2 separate regions of the Homo sapiens genome follow, and region 1 is linked to region 2. Evidence: promoter capture Hi-C in human tissues and cell types (Jung and others, 2019). All regions are on one chromosome and are shown on one strand. The core of a region is centred on a gene start or on the middle of the fragment in contact, and the rest is flanking DNA. Distances in the headings are between cores, read along the strand shown. Region 1 overlaps SMIM41 (small integral membrane protein 41). Region 2 holds the start of KRT83 (keratin 83).

Region 1 (7,377 bases), core at 4,878-7,377, 210 kb after region 2:
TTATCCGTCATATCCTAGAAGTATATTATTCCTATTGTCACAGGGGTTTAACATCCTGTGAAATTATTTGTAGTAATCCAGGGGGATGATTATCCTAAAGTCACAGGGTGTGTACACCCTGTGATATTATTCATATTATTCTAGGGGGATGTTACTCCTAATGTCGCAGATGTGTATGCGCTGTGATATTATTCACAATATACTAGCTGGATATTGTTACTAATGTCACAATGCGTGTACACCTTGTGATATTATTTGTACTATCCTAAGGGGATGTTACTCCTATTGTCACAGGGGGTGTGCTTTCTGTGCTATGATTCGTAGTATCCCAGGGGGATGTTACTCCTACCATACAAATTGTGTACACTTTGTTATATTATTCATAATATCCTAGAGGGATGTTGATCCCCATGTCACGAGGGTGTACATCCTGTGATGTTATTCTTCACATTCTAGGAAGATGTTAACTCCTAATATCACAGAGGGTGTACAATCTGTGAAGTCATTCATAATAGTTTCAGGGGATGTTACTCCTAATGTCACACGTAGTGTACAAACAGTGATATTATTTGTAAAGTTTTTTTGGATATGTTACTCCTAATATCACAGGGGCTGTACACCCTGTCATATTATTCTTAATATCCTAAAGAAATGTTACCACTAATGTCACAGGCAGTGTACACCGTGTGGTATTATTCCCAATATTGTAGGGTGATGTTACTCCTAATGTCACAGAAGGTGTTCACACTCTGATAACATTCGTAATACCCTAAAGCGATGCTACTACTGATGTCACAATGCAGGTACACAATCTGTTATTATTTCTTATATCCTCAGGCGATGTTACTTCTAATGTCACAGGGGTTGTACATTTTGCGATATTATTCGTAATATTTTAGAGAGATGTTACTCCTAATGTCACAGAGGGTGTACACCTTGTGAAGTTATTCATAATAGTTTTGGGGGCTGTTACTCCTAATGTCACCCGTGGTGTACAAACAGTGATATTATTCATAATATTTTATGGACATGTTACTCCTAATATTGCAGGGGCTGTACACCTTGTAATATTATTCATAATATCCTAAAGAAATGTTACCTCTAATGTCACAGGGGGTGTACACTGTATGATATGGTTCCCCATATTGTAATGGGATGTTACTCCTAATATCACAGGGGGTGTTCACACTGTGGTAATATTCGTAATATCCTAAATGGATGTTACTGCTAATGTCACAACACGTGTACATCCTCTGTATTTGTTCGTTATATCCTTGGGGGAGGTTGCTTCTACTGTCACAAGGGGTGTACTCCCTGTGATAGTATTCATAATATCCTAGGTGGATGTTACTCCTCGTGTCACAGGGGCTGTGCGTTTTGTGATATTATTCACAATATCCTAGAAAGATGTTACTCCCCAGGTACACCCTGTGATATTTTTCGTACTATCCTAGGGGATGTTACTCCAAATGTCACAGAAGGTGTACACTCTGTGATATTACTCGTAATCTGTCAGGGAAATGTACTCCTAATGTCACAGGGCATGTACACCATGTGCGCACAGCCCTTGTGATGTTATTTGTACTATTCTCGAGGGATGTTAATCCTAATATTCCATATGCTGTTAACCATGTGGGAACACCTTTGTGGTATTATTCCTAACATACTAGAAGGATGTAACTCCTAACATCACATGGGGTATACGCCATGTGTGTACACATTCTGTGATATTATTCATAACATCCTAGGGAGATGCTACTCCTAGTTTTACAAGGTGCATACGTTATGTGTGTACACCCCCTCTGATGTTATTCATAATATTCTAGGGGAATGTTGCTGCCAATGTCACAGGGAGAGTACGCCATGTGTATGCAACCCTGGTAATATTATTTCTAATATCTTGGGGGGATGTTGCTCCTAATGTCACCTGGAGTGTACACCATGTATGTACACCTTCTGTGATATTATTCATAAATCACAGAAAAATATTATGCCTAATGTAACAGGATGTGTACACCGTGTGCGTCAACCGCCTTTGATATTATTCATAATATACTAGGGGGATGTGATTTTTAATGTCACAAAGGGTGTACAAAATGTCACAGGGTGTGTATGCCTTATGATATTATTCCTGATATCCAGAAGGATGTTACTCCTAAGGTCACAGGGGGTGTACACCCTTCGATAATATTTGTAGTCTTATAGGGAGATATTCCTGTAAATCTCACAGTGGGTGTACACTACACCCACTGTGAAATTATTTGTAATATCTCAGAGATATTACAGAGTTATAGCTCTCTGTGTTATATTAGAGAGTTACATCTCTCTAAGAAAGTACAAATAATACCACAGTGGGTGTACCTTATGTGTGTACACCCACTGTGATATTATTTGTAATATCCATGGTAAACATTACATCTAATATCACAGTGTACTCCCTTTGATATTTTTCATACTATCATAGGGAGATATTGCTTCTAATATCACAGTGGGTGTACACCATGTGTGTACATTCTGTGATATGATACCTTATATCCTAGAGAGATATTTCTCCGAATATCACAGTGTGTGTACACTTTGTGATATTATTCATAATATCCTAGAAGGATGTTACTCCTAATATGACAGAGGATGTACACCCAGTGATATTCTTCGTAATATCCTAGGGAGATGTTACTCCCAATATCACACGGGGTATACACCCATTATATTTTTTGTAATATTCTAGGGGGATGTTACTTTTAAAGTCACAGGGGGTGTACACCCTGTGATGTTGTTCACAATATCCTAAGAAGATGTTACTCTTAATGTCACATGGGGTGTACAACCTGTGATATTACTCGGAATATCTTATGGGGATGCTACTCCTAATGTCACAGGCTGTGTACACCCTGTGATATTATTCGGAATATCCACAAGAGATGTTACTTTTGATGTCACAGACGGGGTCCACCCTTTGATATTTTTTGTCATATCTTAGGGAGATATTACTTCAAATATCACAGTGGGTGTACACCCATTATATTATTTGCAATACCCTAGGGAGATATAACTTTTAATATCACAGTGGGTGTACACACAATTTGTGTATCCTAATATCCTAAAAATAAATAGGACACCTAATATCACAGTTGGTGTACACACTGTGATATTATTCGTAATATTCCAGTGGGATGTTACTCCTCAGGTCACAGGGGGTTAATACCCTGAGACAGTATTCCTCATATTCCAGGGCGGTGATACTCCTAAAGTCACAGGGTGTGTACCCCCTGTGATATTATTTGTCCTATTCTAGGGGAACGTTACTCCTAATGTCACAGGGAGGTACACCCTGTGATATTATTCATAGTATACGAGAGGGATATTAGTACTAATGTCACAATGCGTGTACACCTTGTGATATTATTCATAATATCCTAATATCACAGGGGGTGTGTTCCCTGTGATATTATTCCTAATATCCTAGACGGATATTGTTCCTAACATCACAGGCTGTGTACCCCTTGTCATATCATTCATAATATCCTAAAACTACGTTATTCCTCATGTCACAGGGGGTGTTCACCCTGTGATATTATTCGTAATAGTTTTATGGGATGTTACTCCTAATGCCACACGGGGTGTACACAGAGTCACACAGTGATATGACCTGTAATATTCTATGGAAATATTACTCGTAAATCACAGGGGCTGTACTTCCTGTGATATTATTCTTCATATTCCAGCGGAATGTTACTACTGTTGTCACAGGGGGTGTACACCCTGTGATATTACTCGTCATATCCTAGCGGGATGTTACTACCAATGTCACAATGCGTGTACACCCTGTGATATTATTTGTAGTATCCTAAAGAGATGTTACTACTAAGGTCACAATGCATGTACACCCTCTGATATTATTCGTTATATCCTCGGGGGATGTTACTCCTAATGTCACATGGGGTGTACTCCCTGTGATATTATTCGTAATATCCTAGGGGGATGTTACTTTTAATGTCACCGGGGGTGTATATCATGTGTATTCAACATCTGTGATACTATTCCTATATCCTAGGGGCATGTTCCTCCTAATGTCACATGGGGTGTTCACCATGTGTGTACACCTGCTGTTATATTATTCATAATATCCTAGGGGAATGTTACTCCTGATGGCACAGGCGGTGTACACCATGTGTGTACACCGCCTGTGTCATTATTCATAATATCCTAGGGAGATGTTTCTTTTAATGTCACAAAGAGTGTACAAAATGTCACAGAAGGTGTACAGCTTGTGACATTATCTGTAATACCCTAGAAGGATGTTACTCCTAATATGTCACAGGGGTGTACACCCTTTGATATTATTTGTAATCTCATAGAGAGATATTACTTCAAATATCACAGTGGATGTACACACATAGTGTATACCCTGTGATATTATTCATAATATCCTAGGGAGATACAACTCCTGGTATCACAGTGCGTGTACCCCGTGTGTGTACACCCTTGATATTAGTCGTAATATCCAGGGTAAATATTACTCCTAATATCACACAGTGTGCACACCCTGTGATATTTTTCATAATATTTAAGGGAGATACTGCTTCTAATATCACAGTGGGTGTACCGCATGTGTGTATACTCTGTGACAGTATATTTTATATCCTAGGGAGGTATTACTCCTAATATCACAGTGGGTGTTCACCCTGTGATATCATTCTTATTTGACCTTGCTGCCTTTTTTAACCCACACTACAAAAGGAATGGAACAGATAAGAAGATATTGAGATTAGACAGTGCTGCCGTGCGGCCGCCGCAAGACACTTTTAATATCCCTGTTTCCCAGGCTGTAGATAAAGGGGTTGAGCATGGAGGTGACCACCGTGTACATCACTGCAGCCACTGCACCCTTTCTGGGGGAAGATGACACATCTGAACTGAGGTACCCTCCAACACCTCTTCCATAAAATCAGCAAACAACTGACAGGTGAGACCCACAGGTGGAGAAGGCTTTATACTTCCCACCTGATGATGAAACCCTCAGAATGGAGGAAACAATTTTATAGTAAGAGAAAAGGGTCCCCGAGATGGGAAGAAAACCAAATATGGCAGTAGGGAAATACATGATTATGTTATTGATGAAGGTGTCACAACGGCAAGATGGGGGAGTTGAGAAAGGTCACAGAAGAAATTAGGAATGTCCACCTCCTTGAAGCAGGTCATTAGTAAGGCAATCAAGTTGTACAGCTGGGAGTCTAAAAGACTGAGAAAAAAAAAAGACAGCAAAACTAGGAAGCCACAGAAACACAGGTTCATGATGGCTGAATGATATAGAGGGTGACAGATGGCTACAAACCGGTCATAGGCCATCACACTCAGGAGCATGTCTCTCTTCCGTGCCTCCAAAAATGGCAAAGAGAGACTTCTGAGTCAGGCAGCCTGCATAGGAGATGACTCTGCTGCGAGACTGGATGTCCACAGTCATCTGGGGGACCGTGGTGGAGGTGAAACCGATGTCAGGCAAGGACAGGTTGGAGAGGAAGAAGTACATGGAGGTGTGGAGGTGGGAGTCAGGGCTCATGGCCGGATGATGAGCAGGTTCCCCAGCACCATGACCAGGCACATGGACAGGAACAGTCCAGCAAGGACCAGCTGCCGTTCTGGATCCTCTGAGGTTCTAGGAGGAGGAATATAGAGACATCTGTTAGATTCTGTGGGTCTGTATAGTTTGGACAACTTTTGCCTAGAAAAGAGCGTTGAGAAATCAGAAACAAGTAAACCAACACCCAGCATTGTGTCTGCATTTTGGATACAAGCAATTCACAAGTAATGTTTTCAGATTCCAGAGCAATCCACACTCAGGAATATTTTGCAGTTCTGACAAAATGAATTGTCTTATAATGCTTTCATCATTGATTCTGTGTTATTCAGTTCTTGCTGTACATACCTGCCTTAGAGACACTAGATTCAAGAATGTTCCAAGAACCAGATCATCATAAATAACAAATTCATAATTGCTAGAAAATACAGCCTATCTTTTCCGAAGAAAAATATGTAATAAAACCATTCTCTTCACTTTAAGAAAAAGGTTATCCTAACTAAAGAAAATTAAGAACTCAAATATTTTTTATTCTAATAGATTGATACAAATTTCCTTGATTTAGAACATTTATAAACACTGTATAACAGCTGAGACCATGCCATCTGGAAATGAACTTAAAGTTGATAGTTCATAAGCAGAAAATAGTTCCACATGCGAGTTAGGTCCTAGTGATTTCATCATTATGTTTTCTGACTTTTCTCCTTCAAGAGAGTAATTGCTTACTCAAATCGGTGGGTCTTGTTTTAAAATTCATGTAAGCTATAACTCCTGTCCTTAGCTTAGGGGGACTTAGAGTTTTCATCAGAAAGTTTGGCCAAACGCGGTGGCTCACGCCTGTAATCCCAGCACTTTGGGAGGCCGAGGAGGGCAGATCACGAGGTCATGAGATCAAGACCATCCTGGCCAACATGGTGAAACCCCGCCTCTACTAAAAATACAAAAACTTCACCCGGTATGGCGGAGGGCACCTGTAGTCCCAGCTACTCAGGAGGCTGAGGCAGGAGAATGGCTTGAACCTGGGAGGCAGAGGCTACAGTGAGCTGAGATCACACCACTGCACTCCAGCCTGGGCAACAAGAGCAAAACTCCGTCTCAAAAAACAAAAAACAAAAAGAATCACGTAAGTCGAAGTCACACTGATGACAGCCAATTTTTGTGAACCAAGGAAGTGTCAATTCAATAATTCACATAGATGTTTACTTTTGCTGTCTCCTATGTGCCAAGCAAGATGTAGGCTCTGGGGAGTCAGAAACAAAAGAGACTCACTTGTTCCTCTCACAATACTCAGTACTTACTGAGATAAGGACAAAATAAAATGTCCTGTCTGGAATGCAGGGAAACCAGAACTTCAGGTCAGGGGATATTTCCATTGAATTGTATGGAGTTTAAGCTTAAAATATTAACAAATGTATCTAAAATTCACTTTACCTTTACTTTATGCATCCATCATAGAGATCATGCAGCGGGAGCCCACGATCGGTTTAATCATCACTCACTTCCATTGGATCAACTACAAATCAACTCAGATGAGAGTGCTGAGTCTCAGAGGATGGACATCTCACCCCTTGCCATACAGATAAGTAGAAAGGATGGTATTCAAAATTAATGGCCAGACTCTAAGTCCCAGATACTATACTTCATGGTCTTCCAACTCTCAAAAAGTTGTGGGAGTTTTTTTTTGTTTTTGTTTTTGTTTTTTTGAGACGGAGTCTCATTCTGTTGCCCAGGCTGGAAGTGCAGTGGAGTGATCTCAGCTCATTGCAACCTCCGCATCCCAGGTTCAAGCTATTCTCCTG
Region 2 (7,287 bases), core at 4,530-7,029:
AGTGCGAGTGCTGGGTCATTTACACATTTACACATGCCTGAATTCACTGAACAACTCTACGTTGCTTTCCAGAATGTCTACACCACCCCACGCTCCCAACCACAGTGCCCCAGGGTTCTCATCCTCCCACCCCTCCACATCCACCTTTCTGATCCTTGCCATTCTGATGGTACAAACATAACTTGTGGCCTGATCTGCATCTTTCTAAGGACTGGGGGCAGTCATCATTTCTTCATATTCCTATTAGCCATTTGGGCTTTCCCTTTGATGAACTGTCTATTCAGATCCCTGACTAGCTTTCTACTGGATTTCCTTTCTTTTACTTGTGGATTTGCAGGCATTCCTTATATATATAGACGTTTCTTATACACACACACACACACACACACACACACGTATAAGGAATATATATATATATAAATATATAACTTTTCCCAGGCTATCAACTACCAACTATTTTTTTTTCTGTGTAGTCTTTCGCTAAACTGGAATTTTTCATTTTAATGTGGTCATGTCGATCCATTTTTTACCTGGTCTTTATTTTCAAGGTTTGCTTAAGAAATCTTTCCCCACCCATAAGTAAGGACATTCTCCTACATGGCTTCTGCTTGCCTTTTAGCTTTATCTGTCCTGGCCTTTAATTCATCCGAGGCTTCCCATGGGACATGGTATGAACTAAACTCCAGCTCTATGCTTTCCATACGGTGTGTCTATTTTTTACAAATCTCACCAACTGAATAAATGGCCCTTTGCTTGTTGCAACCCTCATTAAATACCAAGCTTTACTGATGGGAAGGGGCCTGTTGTGAGTGTCTGTGCTGCTCCATTAGTCTATCTACATATTGCTGCACACTTTATTATTACTATTTTATCTCGAGTCCTCAGACTTTCCTTTCCTTTTTCATAACTGGCTTTGCTATAAATAAACTTTACTCTTTCAGAAAAAAATTAATTTTATCAAGTTCCTCAAAATAAATCCGGCTGGAATTTTTGTTGGGTTTGCATTGAATTTGCCAACTAATTTAGGGGCAATTTATAACTTTAGAATGCTAGGTCAAAGTATTCCTGAATATAGCATAATTCCATTTAATCAGATTTTGTTTTTTATTTTCATTATAGAGTTTTATATTGTTCTCCATAGACATCTTGTGCATACTTTATAAAGTTATATAATACTTTATTGTTTTTAATCTGTCTTAGGAATGACATCTTGTTTGAGATCTTGTCGCCCAGGCTGGAGTGCAATGGCGCGACCTCAGCTCACTGCAACCTCCGCCTCCCGGGTTCAAGCGATTCTCCTGCCTCAACCTCCCAAGTTGCTGGAACTACAAACGTGCCTGGCTAATTTTTTTGTATTTTTAGTAGAGACAGCGTTTCACCATGTTGGCCAGTCTGGTCTCGAACTCCTGACCTCAAGTGATCTGCCTGCCTTGGCATCCCAACATGCTGGGATTACAGGCAAGAGCCATTGTGCCCAGCCATATTTTCCATATATTTTCTGATTAGCTGTCACTGATAAAGAAAAGCACTTTTGATTTTTGTAAGTTGACTTTGTAACTAGCAGCACTGCTCAACTTTTCCTGTTACTTCTACCGTGTATCAGTTGACTGTGTTGGGTTTTCTACACAGCTGATCCCATTGTCTGAAAATAATGGCAGTTCTATCTCTTCTCTTCCAATTCTTACAGACATTTCTTTTCTTGGCCAGGAATTCTAGTATTTTACAGCATGGCCTTGAGAATGGACACCTTTGTCTTGCTCTCAGTCTTCATTGGCATGTGCCTCAAGTTCATCCTTTAGGTGTGACATCCTCTAAGCTTCAACCACGGTATCCACCGCCCTGTGAACACGTCTGTGCTCTTCTTCCATTCATTGCCTGGCATTGCCTCCACCCTTCTGACCTTTCCAAACCCCTCTATCCTTCAAATCTCAGCTCAAGTCTGACTTTTCCTACAAAGCCTCTGACTGCTCCAGCCCAAAGCAAGCTCCCACTCCGAGGAAGAGGAGTCTTGAAGAACTGCTTCATCCAGAATACAAATTGTGCATACTTACAAATCTGCCCAACTACTTTGTTGGATCCTTGAGGACGGGGGCTGTGTATTAAATCTCTCTCCCTCCTCTTCGGTACAGAGAACTTGCATAGTAAATAGTAGTGAGTATGTGAAGGTGCCACATCTTATCAGCTCTGGAGGTGTGTTGTGAGTTCAAGGCCAGAAGGCAAAACTGGAGGCATCAAAGAATTCTTCCTGCCTGGAGCAGGAAGCCGCATGCACCTTCCACCCTCCTGGATTGCGTGCCTTCCACGGGCTTCCCATGCACCACCCCAGCTCATCTTCGCAAAGGCCAAAAAGGCCAGTATTAGAATCCTCATTTTTCAGATGAAGACACAAGGTTTACAGAGATTAGCTAAAGCATCACACACACACAGTGACTGAAATGAGAGCTGCAGCCATATTTCCAGGACTCCCAGATCTAATGACTTCACTGCAGCAGGCTTCCCATGGAAATGTCACTTCCACAGCCAGGTGAGCAACAGACCTGTGGCCAGGCACACCTGGAGAAGACCAGAACAGTCCCCTTTTACTCAACGATTTCACCTCCAGGAATTTGTTTTAAGGAAATTACTAGACAGGTGCCCAAAGATGTGTTTACTAATGTTCATTTCAGAGTTGTTTATCAAAAATCCATTAAGAAGGCACAAAAAATGTGAAGCAACATGGATATTAAGGCAAGAAAGAAGTGACAAAAGTCAGAGTATCAGAGTGTCAGAAACCCAGCAGACAGGCAGGTAGACACCAGAAAAGCACACAGGAATAAGGCCAGGGGGTTGCACCCCAAGAGAGACAGGTGGGAATCTGAGGACCAGATCAACAGGGCAAGCGGTCATTCCTCCAGGCCAACCCAGACCAGGTGTGAAGGGCAGGCACAGAGTCCAGGCCCTGGTGACTGAAACAGCCTGTGGCTCTGCCGGACCCTTTATGGGCCCATGGTTAGGGCGGGAACCAATCACAGCCTGGAGCCCAGGAGGGAAGAGGCAGCCTGGGGATTTGGGTGCTGCTGTCTCTTTGTCAGCTTCCTGTCTAAGTCTGTTTTCAAGGGACTCCTGGTCTGCAGTTCTCTTTGTTCTGAGCCATTTACAAATAGATGCTCTAATTAAGGCTTTCTGAGGCGGCAATGATTGCCTTGTAAAACTGCTTTCTGCTTACCCAGGAATGGTACTCTGCATCTCACTAGCCGTGTACACTGTCCCTTTGCAAGGCCCTGCCAGGTGCCTGCAACCAAGACCCAGTCACCCTGCTAGCACAAAGTGAGGTGGGGGTGGCGCTTCCCTCCACCAGGCACTCGCTCGGTCCTCCCAACCTCCAGCAAGCTGTGGATTACCATTTATATTTCACAAGTAAGGACCCTGGGGGAAAACGCCTGTGCCATGGCACAAAGCTAGTAAGAGATATAGTTGGGCTTCGAATTGTGTCTTTTTATCTCCAGGGTCCATGCTATCTTCAGAGCCAATCAGGGCAGGGGTGGGCATGGTCATGGCTCCCCCATCCCAAGGAGGTCATGTGTCTACACAGAGCCCCTCGGTGGAGGGGTCCAACATGATCCAAGCCTGCTGGATTGAGACAGATGAGCCAGGTCAGAAGACAGCAGCGCAGTTTCCAGCATCGTGATGGAGAAATGCTTCACAGAGGGTTCACTGCCCTGCAGTCCTCAGCATTTCACCAAGAAACAGATCCCCCATAATCATTGGATATGTGTGGAGAGCATTCCAGGTGCTCACTGGTTCCAGTGTGGGTGGGTGAAGAGCCTGGTCTTTCTTGGCTGTCTAGCAGATGTTTGACCCAACCAAGACTGAACATGACAGCACCAGCCAGCCCAGCCTCCCTCAAAGATGCTCCCAAAATCCCACTAGCCACTCAGCTGCAGTCAGCCACCCCCAGGCCCCCCAGGTACCCTCAGGCTGTGCCTCCCTGGTGTGTCTTTCACACCAGGATCCCCTATCACACAGCCCACACCCCCAGAGTTCCTGCCCCAGACACAAGACTCTGGAAGCCTGTCCACAGGACCCAAGAAGAGAGGCTAGGAGAGTCCTTTTTTTGGATCCATGGCAGATGTCCAGCTCCCTAAGAGATTTCAACAGCACCATCGCCTGCCCTCCCTCAGGCCCACAGAAGATGGGCCCCTCTTCCATCATCCCCAGATCCCCACTCTGGGATATAACTGGCCCACTCATCCTGAGCGGGAGTGGGAAGGGCAAAAGATGAGAGTCACAGGAGGGTTACTATTAGCCCAGAGTGGGTCAGTGTTGGGTTGTGGCTGGGTCAGGACACAGGTCCATCAGTGGAGTCCTCCTCATCCTCTCCTGACGAAAGCAGTCCAGAGATGTGTGTTTGGAAGGGTTGATGGGCTCAGGTCCTCGGGTTAAGGCAAACCTCCTGGCTCGGTCCGACTGTCCATCCATCAAAGCCATTGCCTGTCCTAACCCAAAGGAACAAGGGCCCAAAGTAAGAGAGCTTGGCTTTAGGAACAGCCACATGAGCTAGCACCCTTCTCTCACCCAGTGTGTTCTCTGAGGTGAGAGAGTGATCTCATTTAAGGACCCTGCTGATGTCCCTCACCTCCCGCACCTTCCCTCCTTCCTGGTGAGTACATACACCCCAAGACCCCATCACTGAGCTTCCCTGCTGGGAACCTAAAGAACACCAATCAGCCTGGACATTGTGAGGGCCTTCCCCCCATCTGTGGCTTCTCATCTTTCCCCCTAGCCAAATGTTGGCTCCCCCACATGCATGCTACCTCCAAACACCCCAGGTCTCTGTAGGATTTCCAGAACCTAGCACAGTGGCTAGTGCATAGTTGGTGGGCACCAAATAAGTATTTCCTGAATAAATGAATAAATGAATAAATGAATAAATGAATACACATAGTCTAGTCTGCAAATCAGAGCCAGACTCTTTTCTGGTCATCTCTCAATCCTGTACTACCCCACCCCAATCCTCCTCAAGCCCAGGTCCCCACTCTCCTCCATGAGTCCCTGGAGCTCTGAGGTATTCCACACTCCCCGCTCCTGATCCCATCAGCAATGACACCTGGAACTCTGAAGCATAGCCCTGGCACTGTCCTGAACTCTCTGAATCAGTTTCTTCCATGTCCCAGATGGTGTCCCTGCACTAGGAATACCCAAAGTGCAAAGAACATGCCCTCCTCCCACCCCAAATCTCTACCCCCACTCCCATCCTTGACCAGGCTCTGAGCAGGAATAGGATAGGAGCGGCCAATCTTGACAATGAGGAAAGGAACCCGCCTTTGAGAAAAAGACAGGAAAGCCTACAGCAAGAGGTTGTCTCAGAGGCAGCCCCCTCCTTGGGACAGGCCAGCCACTCCACCCCAGGGCTTGGCCATGGGTCCAGGGCCCATAGCCTAGCTCTGCCCCTTTCAGAACAGGGTTCAGAGAGCAGGCTTTACCCCAGGTCACTGCACCCATTCCCCTCGCTTGGACCGCAGAATGCAACTAATGCTTTCAGGAACCCCTCTCCCCGCTCCACAGCAGTGCCAGTGGGAGGGGCAGGAGCAAGGAGGAAGCTTATAAAGGGCTTTGAAGATGAAACAGGGCCCGTGGCCAGGGATTGTTGATGCAGCCACACTGAAGAGGCAAGCAGGGTTCTAGCTTAAGAGGCCAGGGTGATGCCAAGCCAATAAAATTCAGCTATTGTCTCTTTGCTCCCTCTTTTAACACCAGCTGCCCCTGGCACATAAAAGGGCCTGCCATCAGCCAGGGAGCACAGGCCCTTGGTTCCATCCTCTGCCATCTACTCCACTGTTCAGACACCTCCTAACCTCCGTCATGACCTGTGGCTTCAACTCCATAGGCTGTGGGTTCCGCCCTGGAAACTTCAGCTGTGTCTCTGCCTGCGGGCCCCGGCCAAGCCGCTGCTGCATCACCGCCGCCCCCTACCGCGGCATCTCCTGCTACCGCGGCCTCACCGGGGGCTTTGGCAGCCACAGCGTGTGCGGGGGCTTCCGCGCCGGCTCCTGCGGACGCAGCTTCGGCTACCGCTCCGGGGGCGTGTGCGGACCCAGCCCCCCATGCATCACCACCGTGTCGGTCAACGAGAGCCTCCTCACGCCCCTCAACCTGGAGATAGACCCCAACGCGCAGTGCGTGAAGCAGGAGGAGAAGGAGCAGATCAAGTCCCTCAACAGCAGATTCGCGGCCTTCATCGACAAGGTGGGTGTCGTCCTGGATCACACCCTTCCTGAACCCCTACTCATGTTCAGAACTCAGGCTGGGCACTGACAGGGAAGTCAAAGGCAAGAACTTGCCCACAGAAGTTCCCAGGCCAAAGGGAAAGGTAGTCATACTTCTAGGACACAGACAGAAAGACAAAAATGGGACCGGGAGCTACCAGACTGATGGGGGAGATTAACTGAAAACACAAAAGCAGAACGAGGGGCAGAGCCTTCCACACTGAGTGATAATATCACCTAGTGAGCAAAGGACCACTGTGTGGGCGCTCAGGGCATTTGAAGCCAAATAACTGCTTAAATGCCAAGGAGATGCTGTCTCCATCAAGGCAGGGCTAATAAGTGTGGTGCTGGAAAACTGTCTGGAAGTGGGTCTCGTGGATGGCACAGAACTCTTTCTATACCACACAGTGATTTGGCCACTGAGCAGGGTCTAGAGTATTTTGTCCAAGCCACTGTTCCTGGGGCTCAGGATCCAGGGGTGAGCAAGAGTCATGGTCCCCATCCTCACAGGCTTTATGGGGAGGCAGGCAGTGCACAGTCTGGGTTTGGTTGAAACCATCTGTGTAGTCAGTGTCCAACTAGAGTTTGCAGCCACCTTCTCCACTGAATCCAGGCAACCACCATGTGGCAGTGATGTGAGAGACTGGGAGAAAAGGCTCTGACTAGGAACATGTTCTGGGGTTGGAAAGAGCCCTCCAGAGCCAAAACCTCAAGAGAGGAGTCACACTAGAGAGATGCCCACCAGAAAGGATCGGGAAAAAAAAATGTGGAATTTCTAATAGCATGAGAGACCAAGGATAGCATAAGATAGGACCTACCAAGGGTGTGGCCAAGTTATTAGACAAAAGAAGCTGAGTGGAGTAGTGGGCCAACCTCATCGCTGGGAGAGGGATGTTCCTATAATTGTCAAAGGGAGAGAAGACACCCCCTGCAGCGCAGAAGATCGGAGTTTGAGCTCTTCTCTGCCACTGTGAGCTCTCAGGCAGTCAGGGAACCTCCTTGGCCTCATCAGTAAAATAAGGGGGTTGGAGCACAGGACATT

What was found. The method cuts DNA at HindIII sites, captures the fragments that hold promoters and counts their contacts. A contact is called where the count stands out against the background at its distance.
Region 1: a contact is called between a fragment that was not itself captured here and the fragment with the promoter of KRT83 in region 2, in 2 of the 25 tissues and cell types used here (dorsolateral prefrontal cortex and mesenchymal stem cells).

What each region holds. Positions count from the first base shown.
Region 1 is chr12:52,105,658-52,113,034 of GRCh38, reverse strand. It overlaps SMIM41 (small integral membrane protein 41), which reads right to left. Exons shown (of 3, transcript NM_001369216.1): 3 at 4,780-5,656. It overlaps SMIM41-AS1 (SMIM41 antisense RNA 1), which reads left to right. Exons shown (of 4, transcript XR_007063312.1): 2 at 7,034-7,377. It also overlaps the pseudogene OR7E47P. Among named protein-coding and RNA genes, the nearest start is that of SMIM41-AS1, 8.9 kb to the left of the region's middle. The HindIII fragment of the contact is 8,588 bases long and covers 1,834-7,377 here.
Region 2 is chr12:52,319,890-52,327,176 of GRCh38, reverse strand. It overlaps KRT83 (keratin 83), which reads left to right and starts at 5,779. Exons shown (of 9, transcript NM_002282.3): 1 at 5,779-6,225. The coding sequence starts at 5,842. The HindIII fragment of the contact is 13,306 bases long and covers 3,699-7,287 here.